Regions from separate parts of the Homo sapiens genome. Here all the other regions are linked to region 1. The links are contacts of gene promoters, found by promoter capture Hi-C in blood cells and fetal thymus (Javierre and others, 2016). All regions are on one chromosome and are shown on one strand. Each heading gives the region's core, a stretch centred on a gene start or on the middle of the fragment in contact. The rest is flanking DNA. Distances are from core to core; before and after follow the strand shown. Region 1 holds the start of PLCL1 (phospholipase C like 1 (inactive)). Region 2 has its middle 21 kb from the start of SATB2-AS1. Region 3 has its middle 1.8 kb from the start of SATB2-AS1. Region 4 overlaps SATB2 (SATB homeobox 2).

Region 1 (2,959 bases), core at 154-2,653:
GTGAGGTGATTAGCGGGTCAGGAAGCGTTTTCCCTGGATGTGGTGGTAACCACAAGGACCAGTGATAATGCTTGGGGGATTGATTGCTTTCCGGTTGTGCTTTCTGCAGCGCAAAAACTCTGGGCTCTTGCATTGCTCTTTACTGTGATGCAGGGTCCACTTAAAACTCTGCCTCCCTACCGGGAAAGTTCACACATCTTGGGATTTCGGGATCATTTAAGTCTAGAGGGATTCTTTTTTTACACTTGAGAGTAAGCTGTGCATTTTCTTCATTGTATGGGAAAAGCTAACCCTTCATTGGAAAGCAATGCACAACCATCCGGTGGGTCTGCATTTATCCAGAGTTCTCCCTTCCTCCCTCCATCAACGGTTTAGTGAAGCTTGCAGAGAAAATGAGGGAAAGCATCCATCAGAACGCAAAGACGCAGAGCGGAACTTTTCCTCTGCCGTCAGTGGGGAGAAAAAGTCACTTGTGCGTCTCGTGGCTGACAGCTGAGTCTGGGAACCTCCGGATAAGGAAGGAAGGTTTGGCGTTGAAGGAGGTGGGAGAAAACAATGCTGAGCCCGGATGCCTCCGGACACCGCACATCCTGCCCGGGTCCCTGACCCACCCATCACCCACAGCCACGCTCCCGGTGCGGCGCGGCTTTGCTTACCTTGATGATGCTGCTGCGCCGGGGGGTCGCCCGTGCTGCCTCCAGGAGGCCCGCCTCGCTGTCCGCTGGGGTCCCCGCGGCGCCTGGCAGTGCGACCCCGCTGCGACGGTCCCTCATCCGGCCCCCAGAGGCCGCCGTCACGCAGTCCCCGGCGGCATCCGGGCCCACTCGGGGGTCGTCTTCGCCCCCCGCCGCGTCGGGCGGCGCCGGATCCTCCCTGCCGGCCGCGCCCTCGGCCATGGCCTGGAGCGTTTAGGGCTCCCCGGGGGAAAGCGGGACGCCCGGCAGCGGAGTCCAGCCGCTAGGCACCGGTGCGCTCCTGCACCGGGAGGCGGCCCCGCCAGACTTTGTTTCACCGCCCAGCGGCGGCAGTGGCGGCGGCGGCGGCGGCGGCGGCAACTTTCTGGAGAGGGGACATCGCTCGGGCAGAGACGTCCTCGGGCTTCGGTCTAGGAGGCTAGCAGTCCGGCGGGGGACGGTGGCGGGAGTGGGGAGGCGATGTGAGCGGGAGGCAGAAGGAGAGGCGAAAAAGAGAGGGAGGTATCCGAAATGTGATGCAAACGCCGGCCCTGCGCCAGACAAAAGGCACCGGGCGCCCAGCCAGGCGGCCTCTGGAGCCCGGACGCCGGCGGCCCGATAGGGGCCAGAGCCGGGCGACTGCGGCCGGGCGCACCCGCCACCTGCCCGCGGACTGCGGCGCAGCGGTCCCAGGAAGTGCGGCGGCGGCGGCGGCCTCCACTCAGCTCTGTTGTGACAGGGAGGGAGACTTGTTTTGACAGCCCTTGGGGATTGGCAGGCGTCTGGGCCTCTTAGGAGCCTCGCCTCGCCGAGGGGGCTCGGCCCGACCAATCCTCACTGCGGAGGGGTGTGCCCGAGCGCGAAGAATGGAATGTGTTCTGCAACTGGGAGCCGGCCCAGCGGGGCTAATGTACTCGAGCCAGGGTGTACCCGCGCGCGCGCGTGTGCAAACCCGGAGGCGCTCCGTGTATATTTTAGGAAGTTTAGATTTGCGAAATGAGCCTGAGATGCAACAAAAATCCAGGTTGGGTGAAGGAGAGGGGAGAAAGAAACCTTCTTCTGCCAAACAAAGCAATTTGGAGGAAAGTGGGTATTGAGTATGAATGTCTAAGCGTTTGGGGTGACGGGGTGAAGCTTTGCGTGGTCACAGGTTAATTGCAGGCTCTCAGGCCAATTCTTAGAAGTCAAGTCCATGCAGAGATAAACTAGGGTTTACTGGGATCTTGGGGTTCCATAATTTGCTTCAGGTTCCAGGAAAGGATTCTAAGGTCATTCTGCAGTGTGAGTAAATATAACAAGGAAAGGGAGTCAGTGAAAGAGATGAGGGTGAAAGGAAACTGAACCAACTAAATCCCTCCGAAGACTGACTCTTAAAAAGCACAGATATAATCCAAGTCAGATAAATGCAGGTGGGGAGTTTAGTCTCTATCCTAAAACATTCCTATTTGACAATGGTTCAGCCTCCTTTCTCTATATAATCCTATATAAAAACATATTTTGCTCATTTCCAGTAAGCTAGCAACCAAGAAGGGAGAGATCTTTGGATGATGAGTTAAGTCACTGAAATTATCCACAGAATGCTCAGATGCAAACCATGGTCCTAAGGCTCCCTGGTAAGACAAAAGACTTGGCATTTTAATTTTAAACTCCTTTGATATTAGAATCTATATTAAACCTCACTTATAACATTACATTTTATCTTATTAATAATTTAATAATTTGAGATTTTACTTGTTCCTTAGTCTGGCTAACAGCATGAGAAATTATTCAGCATTTTAGACCAACAATTTGGTTTGAATCTCATAATTTTAGAGATATATGGGGATTTAGGGATCAACTAGGACATCATTTTTGTTTTACGGTTGAGACAAAGGCCCAGGGAGTCTTGTCTACTAGTTAGTGCAGGAGCCAAAATTAGAATCAGCCACCCAACTCCTCCGATAATCTCTTCACTACTTTATCTGTCTCCTCTGGGCTACAACCAGCCAGAACTGGCAGGGGCACTTGGGAGGTTTCAGATTTGACATTTATCAACTACTAGGGAATACTGAGAAGGCTTGACTTTGCCTTTTCTTTAAACATAAATGCAGCCTAGTAATGAATGTACTGTAGAGAGTAGCAGTGACCTCTGGTTTTAGAACCAACACCACCCTCTAGTGAGATTCTGAGAACTGCATCCATAACAGCAAAGGCTTCTTTTTCCCCCTCATCTTTAAAAGACAGGAGGGGTAACCCAACAAAAGTTTCCTTTTCAACAGGTATGCCTTTACAACGCACAGACTAGA
Region 2 (2,959 bases), core at 344-2,843, 1.7 Mb before region 1:
AAGGTTTTCACATTAGTAAATATAAATCCACTTCTTTTCAAACTTCTGAATGCTATTCCATGGCAGAGAGACATGTTTGTCATTTAATCATTCCCCTCCTGACGGATACTTGGGTTGCTTCCAAGTTTTCAAGATTATAAACAGTGCTGCAGTGAATATCCTTGCACACCTTTTTTGGTATACATTTATTGAGACAGATCCCTGAAAGTAGAACTGGTGGACAGGCCTAAAGTTTAATTTTGCTATAAGACGCCAGTTTTCGAGTCTATTTTATTCGGTGCTTCCAGATAACAAGATTTGTAAAATTGTAAAGTAAGTTATTTCTTGACAGGATCCATCCTAAGGCTAACATTAATCCAGAAACAAACCCACCAGTGCCTCTGATAATTATGCTGTATCTCAGAAAGCTAGGAATACTTGGCCACAGGCACAGTTCTTTAAGCTTTTAAAGCTTTTCTGAGCCAGTTGTGGTGGCTCACGCCAGTAACACCAGCATTTTGGGAGGCTGAGGCAGGAGAATCGCTTGAGCCCAGGAGTTGGAGATCAGCCTGGGCAACATAGGGAGACCTCATCTCTACAAAAAATTAAAAAATTAGCCAAGTGTGGTGGTGCCTGCCTGTGGTCCCAACTACTTGGGGAACTGAGGTGGAGGGATCACTTGAGCCTGGAATGTCAAGACTGCAGTGAGCCATAATTGTGTCACTGCATTCCAGCCTGGGTGACAGAGTGAGACCCAGTCTCAAGAAAGAAAGAAAGAGAGAGAGAGAGAGAGAGAGAGAGAGAGAGAGAGAGAGCAAGCTCTTTGGGAAGCTGGGCAACCTAGCAAGACCCCACCTCTCCAAAAAAATTAAAAATTAGCCAGCACACCACTGCACTCCAGCCTGGGTGACAGAGCAAGACCCTGTCTCAAAATAAAAACAAACAAACAAACAAAAAAAGTAAGTAAAGCTTTTCTGGGGCCTGCTAAAAAGTTCGAGATCTGGAAAAATTGTTCCCTTCAATATATAAAACCTAGAGAACGCTAAAGTTAACACAGATTTATTAAATCCCTACAAAATTTATCATTGTGTCAATTTCATTAATATTACATTTAGTATTCATAAATGTTTCATTGTTGGAATTCTCTTTAATTCTTTCCCCAATCTGCTTTCCTCCCTAAGTGAGGGACCAACACCAACCCTCTTGGTTTCTCCTTACTGTATTCAGAGAAAAGATTCACCTAAAAAATAACTTAAGGTCTTTCTTTTTCTCCTCTTTATTTTGGGTGTCTTTCTAAGGAGGATTGCCTTCTGCTCCTCGTTTAGGAAGAAGGCAGCTTTAACCAGGACAACAGTTTGGGGACGGAGCTCCCTTCCCCAGGAGGGGGCAGTATTGAGGAGAGAACTGCATGTGGCCAGTGGCAAAAACTAGGGGAGAAATTCTTTCTTCAGTCTTCTGAGAGAGCCCATGGAAGACAGCGAGAACTTAGAGGGCAACAGACCCAATTCATTTGGTGGGTTGATAGGGCAGGGGCTGTGGGTCACAGGCTCCCTGTTGTGGGGATGAGGCGGCAGGCAATGTAAAGGATCTCCCTCTTGATGCAGCTTTCATTCTGAGTATCAAGCTCTTTTTTAATGTACTTGTTTTCCTCTAGTGCTTAATTCTTAGCAATGACATAGCATCCTGCTACATTTCATCATGAAAGTACTGTATTTCAGCAGCACTTTGGGTTAATCAGTACTGTCAGGATAGGCTGGGAGCCTAATCAACAATAGTGTTTCTATGAAGGATGACAGAATTAGTGAATGTAATCACCTCAAGTGTTTCTTGGCTCTGAATTTAATTCAACAAGCTCGTGTTGAGTACTTACCAAGTATCCTGCTAGACAGAGAAAACCCTGAAAATAGGGACCAGCTATTTATTTATTTATAAAATTTATTTGTTTATAAAATGCATTCAGGGTTTCCAACAATGGACTTACACAGGAACCTTTGGAACACCATCCATCCCTGACTGGGCACTCTTCACACGGGCCATGTATGGGACAACCAGACGTTTCTGTTTTCCAAAGAAGTTTGTGATTCCCTGGGAAATGTCCCAGGCCAGGGAGTTTTTTGTTCAAGGTTTCTCTGTAATAAGTACTGTGTGGGATACTTTATGGATTGACCTGGCTAAATTATGTTGTTTTTTTAAGCTGGTGATTTTGTAGTTTACAAAATGATCCACAGAGTTTGGCAGTTTGCAAGCCTTAAAAGCTTGAGATGCATTTCTAAGAGTACAAATATTCCCTTTGGCCATTTGGGCCACAAAACCCTGAAGGTTCCCTTGCTTGGAGATTGTTGGTGGTCTTCCTTTTCTGCAGCCTGGAGCTCTGCCTGGAGCCTTTAAAAGTGAAGTGGACTAAACTCTGTTAAAATTATATGAATTGCCTGACTACTCCTTACCCTTATCCCCATGAAAAGTACCTGATTGTTAACATCTCTTTATAGATATATCCAAGATGTAGTGACTTCAGTTTCTCCCTTTGCCAGACAATGGAGGTTGACTTGTGTTCTTCATTCTATAGTTCTCACCCACACATCCAGGAGAGTTCCAAGGGAGCCATAAAGGTACACCAGTGGATTTCAGCATTTGAGAAAGTCTCTCAAATGTCATATGTTTACTTCTCTGAAATAAAACTGCACAGAAAAAGAAAACATCAACTGTCTTTTGCTTTTGGCTGAAATTGTATAAACTCACCAGTTGAGACATTGGCCATACGGAGATGAGGAAGAGCTGGTCCCTATTTTCAGGGTTTTCTCTGTCTAGCAGGATACTTGGTAAGTACTCAACACATGCTTGTTGAATTAAATTCAGAGCCAAGAAACACTTGAGGTGATTACATTCACTAACTCTGTCATCCTTAAATGGCCAGATCCTGCAGTTATCCCTTGTCTTGGCCACTGCACTGTCCCTACTCAAGAAGATGCAGGCCAGGCAT
Region 3 (2,959 bases), core at 153-2,652, 1.7 Mb before region 1:
AGCTGCAGTCACTGAGGCCCTGGCCCCGGGGTCCTGTGTCCTAGGCCAACGTGGTGGTGGTGAGGGGGCTGGGAGGGGTATATTGCGGTAGGGATGCTGAAAGACCTTGACCTGACTGCCCTCTCCTTTCTGAGAGCTAAAGAATGTGGTGGGGATTCTTCCAAAGCCGGGAGAAGGCAAGACTAGTGTGTGCTAGTGGGTGCAGCTGGGCTGCAGAGGGAGGGAATTCCTGCCGACTACAGGGAGCCCTCTGTGCTTGTCTCTCTCCCCCGCCCTCAGCCCTCTTCCCCTTTCATTGAATGCCTGAAGTCAGAGCCTACCTGGAAACCCTCAAAATTTTACACTCCACTTGTCCGAGGTTTCCAATGATGACAAATTTGAAAAACGCTTCGGCTGAAGCCCGGCACCTAAGGCTGAGAGTTGGGGGGAGGGGAGGCTGTTGGATAAAAGCTCCTTGGAAAAGACACACTTGCCTCCCCCTTTTTCGCCACGCGGAAACTGGCCGGTCTGGACAAGGGATTGCGCTGGGCTAAGGCCTCGGGCTGGGGAGAGCTCCAGCAGCCTGAAAGCCGAATCCGCAGAAGTTATCCACCTGGCTCCTTAGCCACCGGCCAACAAGAGGGCTCTGGGCGTCCCGCCCTTCACGCCTGTATTAGAAAGGCCTGAGTCTGGCCGGGAGACCTGACTTGAGGTCTCTTGGGAGGAGCAGGGGGTGCCAGTTCTGCAGGGGACTTGCCCAGTTCCAGTGAGGCTGATGTAGAAAACAATAGCTCTGTCCTCAGCCTGGGCGGCCAGCCGGGGCCGCACGTGTAAGATGTGATTCTATCTGAGTTTCCAAATCTAAGTGCATTGATTGAGGCCCAAAGAGTTCACGGCGCATAACTGTCTTAATTAAACCTGCTATAAACAGACAAATCACTTCTTGTTCTTGTAAATAGAGCTTGGGGAGATGGCACAGGGTCTGGCAAAAGCCAGGCTTGGGGAACATTCTTAAAAAAGGAAAAGAGTACTGAGACACAGACAGAAAAAGAATAAAACTGGAGTATCCACATCTTCAGAAAATAGCTCAACTGAAACCAAAATATGCCATAGCAGGGAAGTAATGTGAGACACCCTAAGTTCCCAGAGCAGCTCAGTGGAGGCTGGTAGCCCAGGATGGGACCAATGGTGGAAAAGCAGGGAGCCGGAGAGACCACAGGTTGTTTGGGGGAGGACAGGTGCCCATTGCTGAGGCTCTGAGCTACTCTACTTGGCCCTGCACTTTCCTTGCCAATCCTTCCATCTTTCCCTGCCACTGATCTCAACTTCCTGATACTGAGAGACAGTGCTGGGAGGACAAGTACTCTCTCAACTTGGTCAGCTTGGGGGACAAGGGCTGGTCACCAAGAGCTCAGAGATAGCAACAACTGGGGATGATGGGTGATCATAGGAGTCCAGCGGGAGCAGATGGGAAGAAAAGTTGTCTGTGATCCTCTGGGAAAGCAGAAAATGGGGAGTATGTACACCCACAGCTCAGATTCTGCTGTCCCTAAGTGCCGGCAAGGGCTGGGGGATGATCTTGAGTAGGGTCAGGTGCTCCAGTGCCCCAGCTGTTGGGTGTCCAGAAGAGGTTAGGTGTGTGGTAGCTCTGGGAAGAATGCGCGAGACGTCCTTCACTTGGAATGTGCAAAGGGCCGGGTCTGTCTCCAAGTAACTCCGGGTCTCCGGAAGTTACCTGGCAGGGGCAGCCCTCAGCAGACTTTGGGTCTTACAGCATAAAACGAGACGAACTAAGGGGAGCCCACCACTTTTCTAGCTAAAAGTGGAAAGGAAAAGTTGTCTATAATATGTAAATACAGGAGATATGAGTGCACAGGTTTGGGTGGGTTCCTGGTAACTTCTGGAGCCGACTTTTCCCTGGTCTTGGTTTGCAAACTTTAATTCCCATTTCTTTTCCTTTACTATTTAGCATATGACTCTAACAATAATCTGATTCAGAAATACTCTTCATTTCGTTAGGCTAACATTGATAAGGAATTTAAGTTCAGGTAAATTTTAGCACAACACTTTTCTAAAAAGTAACTTTAAAAGTGTTTTTAACTTCCACACAACAAAAACGAAAAAAGTATATATCACTATGGTTGGAGAGAAACATTCTTAGATTGCCTTTATATTTCAGAGACTTTGTATAGGTGCCAGCAACTCCGCAGACACTAACAAATGGGTTATTTGCAGTTATTGTTCATGAAAGGTCTTTTATATTTTTAAATTACGGCATGGTTCCCAGGTGGAAAAATTCCTTACAATTAAGAACTGGTTTTCAAGAAGATTGGAAAACCAGAACAAAAATTACAACGTTTTATCATATAGAAGTCTTTACTGAAAACAACGGATATTGAGTGGAAGTCAGAATGTAATGAAAGTTAATTAAAATGCAAACTATTAGGGAAACACTGCAGATGTCTTTCTGTCATATCCAACGGGACAGTCTTTAGATATTCCACCCTCCCTTATATTATACTTGTATTGTGAGACTTGAATGGTTGTCAACAGTTTTCTGTTGACAGAAATAACAACAGTTCACCTTTGAAAACTCTTCACTCAAAGCTACAATGATGATTGCTCTCGAGACAAGGACTGCTGAAACAAATAACTTTCACACATCTACACTCACACTTGCACACCCCAAACGCACACGCAATTGCCGGTTTTTGAAAACGTTGCCTCTGAATGAGAAAGAGAGAGAGAGAGAGAGACTGAGAAAGTCGAACTCGAGCTTAGGTAACCAACAAACCCAATTACTAGGCTTTATTGATACTAAAAGGAAAAGTTCCCCTCGTAAAATTTCTCTGAGCTTATTAGTTATTTAAATCAGCCCCAGGGTTGGACGCGTGACGCCGAAGGCACCTTCTGTCGGCTCCTGGAGGTGAGCAGCCAGCGTCCCTGCGCCGACCCACAGCCCCTCGCTCCGTCCTGGGCA
Region 4 (2,959 bases), core at 213-2,712, 1.6 Mb before region 1:
AGGGAAGCAAATGTGATCAAGATTGTTAGTCAGGGCCTCATTTAAAGCTGAACATTGTCTACAACAACAGTTAGTTTAATTGTCTACATGTGGAACACTTCCTTTTAGATGAAAAGAAATGCAGTTCGGGTCAGGTGTAGTCACCATATCAGCAACAGTAGAGAGACATTTAACTTTTTGAAAGGAATGCAGATATGAAAGTATAGATAGGTATATATTGAGATTATAAAATACTTAGAAATATATTGTTAACATGGGCAAAATGGAGAAAACTCCATTCCCAAGGATGAATATCATAATATTTGTAGGAAGTACACATTACTTCAAAAGAGAAAAGATTGTATTTCTCCCTCCTCACTTTTTTTTTTTTTTTTTAAGGTTTTAAGATCTTTTAAATAGAATGAACTTAGGCTTTGGGGTCATCCAACAATCTAGCCTGTCCTCTGTAGTTTTGCTGAGGTAGAAAAATAACTCTTCTCTAAAGTGTTTTTAGTTCTTGGCCTGTTATTAAAATAAAGATATACTTGGTTAAAAAAATATATGCAGTGGAACATACACATTAAACAGAACATAGGGTATCCGCCCCTCAAAGTCCTGAGCATAATTTGATGTTTCAAGTAATTTTGGAAGCCTTATGTTCCATCAGAAGAAACCCACTGACCATTGTATACTCAAGATCATCTGTAGTGCAGTGTGTGTGTGTGTGTGTGTGTGTGTGTGTGTGTGTGTGTGTTGGAACTACATAGATGTCCCTTAAGGCATCTGTTTTTTAACCCCTGCAGAAAATAAGCAATATCATCCTTTCCCAGAGGGTTGTAACCAGCAAAGTCTGTACATATGAGATATCCTGTTTGAATTCTTCTTTTCTTTCTTGAATTTTGTTTTAACCAATCTATCTCTGTAGAGAAGGGAAAACAGACTAATCATCATTTATTAGATAGCTAAGAATATGAATTTGAGTCATTTTAAGTATACGGAAATCAGTTTTATTCCAGGAAAGACTACAGTAATTATTTGGTATATCTGACAAAGTAGTAAGCAGTGAAGTTTGATGGTTATAATTTAAAACCCCTATTTTTCTTTCTTTTTAAAAAGTATTTATTATAGAATCAGCATATGTGTATATATTTAAAAAGACATGTTAAATTTACAGGGCTAGATGAATTCCAAATAGTATTATTTTCTTGGGTTATACTTATCTTTTAAAGCTTTTTAGGTTTCTGTTGGAATAAAATTTCTCACCATTAAAATGTTTCTTATGACTAAGAACCCACATTAGGTGTGTAAAATATGTACATTGTTTTATTTCAGAAAGCCAAACTTTATCCTATATAGCATGTAAATTAATAAAGAATTCTTTATATTGTTTAATCAGTAGGCTTTTAAAAAACCTATATAACTAATATATGGTAACATAGTAATTTTTACTATCTTCCTTACATGAATACTGAGATACAATGGCATTTTGGAACATATTTAAAGATGGAGCATTTGACAAAAGTTGTATGTGTAACAGTTTGTCAGTGAAAAGTGACAAGTGGGAAATGACAAATGAAATGTTGGCATCATCACTCTTTATTTTGATAAAAATGTCTCAATTTGCAGTGATATAATACTGTTTCATATTATTTCATGAGTTGTGTGAGAATGCATAAGGGGAATTTAGATTTTGTGAACGGAAAATTAGCAGCCCAAAGTCTCTTTTCAGAAGCTTTGGCAGCAAGTTCCCCGTCTCCCCCACTCCCCAAGAATAAGAACAGCAGTGAAATGTTGGATCTAACCCATACATTTTAACTCATTATTTTTTGGAAAAAACAGAGAAATAACCTAAAATGGTTTCGAGTAGGAGACCTTTATGCTTAACTCAAAAAAATGAAGAAAAGAGTTTGCCTTTTAGTTTCTATTCTTTTCTTTGTAGCAATTTTTAAATGAATGATTTGCCTCTACTGACTTTGATTGTATGGTCTTTTTTCACTTCCAATCAACACTGCTCTCCAGCATTAATTTAGGGTGCCAGTAAGGAGAGCTGTGAATTCCTGTTATTTTAAAATGCAATAGAGGTTTTGAAAATGTCTGTGGTGAAAATGGATTTTTATATACAAAAGATTCATCATCCTACTACTTAAATGTAATGTGATAAATATTTCAAAGTCAAAGTAGATGCCCTGAGTGGAACTGAGGTATGACTAAAACAAAAACCAGTTGAGGACTTACAGAGTTTGAAAAAAGCACAGTTGTAGTCATTATAGTATGCTATTTTCCGTTGCTCTTTATTGTTAGCAATTAACCAAACATTATTTTTCTTCTTTTATGTAGAAACAAGCCCTGTAAGCATAACATGCTACAGTGTTTTTGTAAAAATGTTCCATGGTGGAGTTTTCAAAATTATGGAACTCTAGCTATATATATTTGTTTCAATTAACAGAATTATTTTGCTTTTTAGTAGCAAGTGATTTAAGAATTGTGGTAAAATCAGTATAATTAAGTGGCACTGAAAGGCTACATCAGAAATTGCATTCTACAACTTCTGTATCTTTGCTGCTCAATTAAAAAGTTTTACTTATTTCAGATTTTTAAAAAACTAGATAAAAAGACATAATATGGAACAAGTGTGCTTTAGATATATAATTATGACAATAGAGTTTATGGCATGCATTTTTTTTCCCCTTTTTAATTGATGTCCTTTAACTTAAACAAGTGGATGTTATGGTTATTAGTTTGACAAATGCCTAAAATGCAGATAAAAGCATGAATAGAAATTTTAAGAATTTGAAACTTGCAATAAAGTTATCAGCAAACTATGTCAGTTTTATAGTAAGCATATTCTTTATTAATGATTATGACACATAGGACAGGAAAACCTTCTGGGGAAATATATTTCAATTTTAGTTGCTCCTGGTACTGTTACTCACTAATAGTGTGTGGGCAGATTCAGTTCTGCTCTTACCTAGTAGCCGTA

Evidence for each region. Contacts are between HindIII fragments. The CHiCAGO score rates a contact against its expected background, and 5 or more counts as called.
Region 2: a contact is called between a fragment that was not itself captured here and the fragment with the promoter of PLCL1 in region 1, in 2 of 17 cell types (megakaryocytes and M0 macrophages). The highest score is 5.3, in megakaryocytes.
Region 3: a contact is called between a fragment that was not itself captured here and the fragment with the promoter of PLCL1 in region 1, in 5 of 17 cell types (M0 macrophages, megakaryocytes, fetal thymus and 2 more). The highest score is 16.2, in M0 macrophages.
Region 4: a fragment that was not itself captured here is called in contact with the fragment with the promoter of PLCL1 in region 1 in 1 of 17 cell types (M0 macrophages); the score reaches 6.0 in M0 macrophages.

Annotation. Positions count from the first base shown.
Region 1 is chr2:197,803,037-197,805,995 of GRCh38, reverse strand. PLCL1 (phospholipase C like 1 (inactive)) reads right to left here and starts at 1,403. Exons shown (of 6, transcript NM_006226.4): 1 at 657-1,403. The coding sequence starts at 896. It overlaps LOC105373828 (a long non-coding RNA gene), which reads left to right and starts at 1,450. Exons shown (of 4, transcript XR_001739850.3): 1 at 1,450-2,287. RefSeq lists a silencer at 1,227-1,356. The HindIII fragment of the contact is 1,428 bases long and covers 383-1,810 here.
Region 2 is chr2:199,487,393-199,490,351 of GRCh38, reverse strand. No RefSeq gene overlaps it. Among named protein-coding and RNA genes, the nearest start is that of SATB2-AS1, 21 kb to the right of the region's middle. The HindIII fragment of the contact is 1,286 bases long and covers 951-2,236 here.
Region 3 is chr2:199,464,867-199,467,825 of GRCh38, reverse strand. It overlaps a transcript of SATB2 not described here. Among named protein-coding and RNA genes, the nearest start is that of SATB2-AS1, 1.8 kb to the left of the region's middle. The HindIII fragment of the contact is 8,458 bases long and covers 1-2,959 here.
Region 4 is chr2:199,448,866-199,451,824 of GRCh38, reverse strand. The region is part of intron 2 of SATB2 (SATB homeobox 2); the gene reads left to right. Among named protein-coding and RNA genes, the nearest start is that of SATB2, 7.6 kb to the left of the region's middle. The HindIII fragment of the contact is 503 bases long and covers 1,211-1,713 here.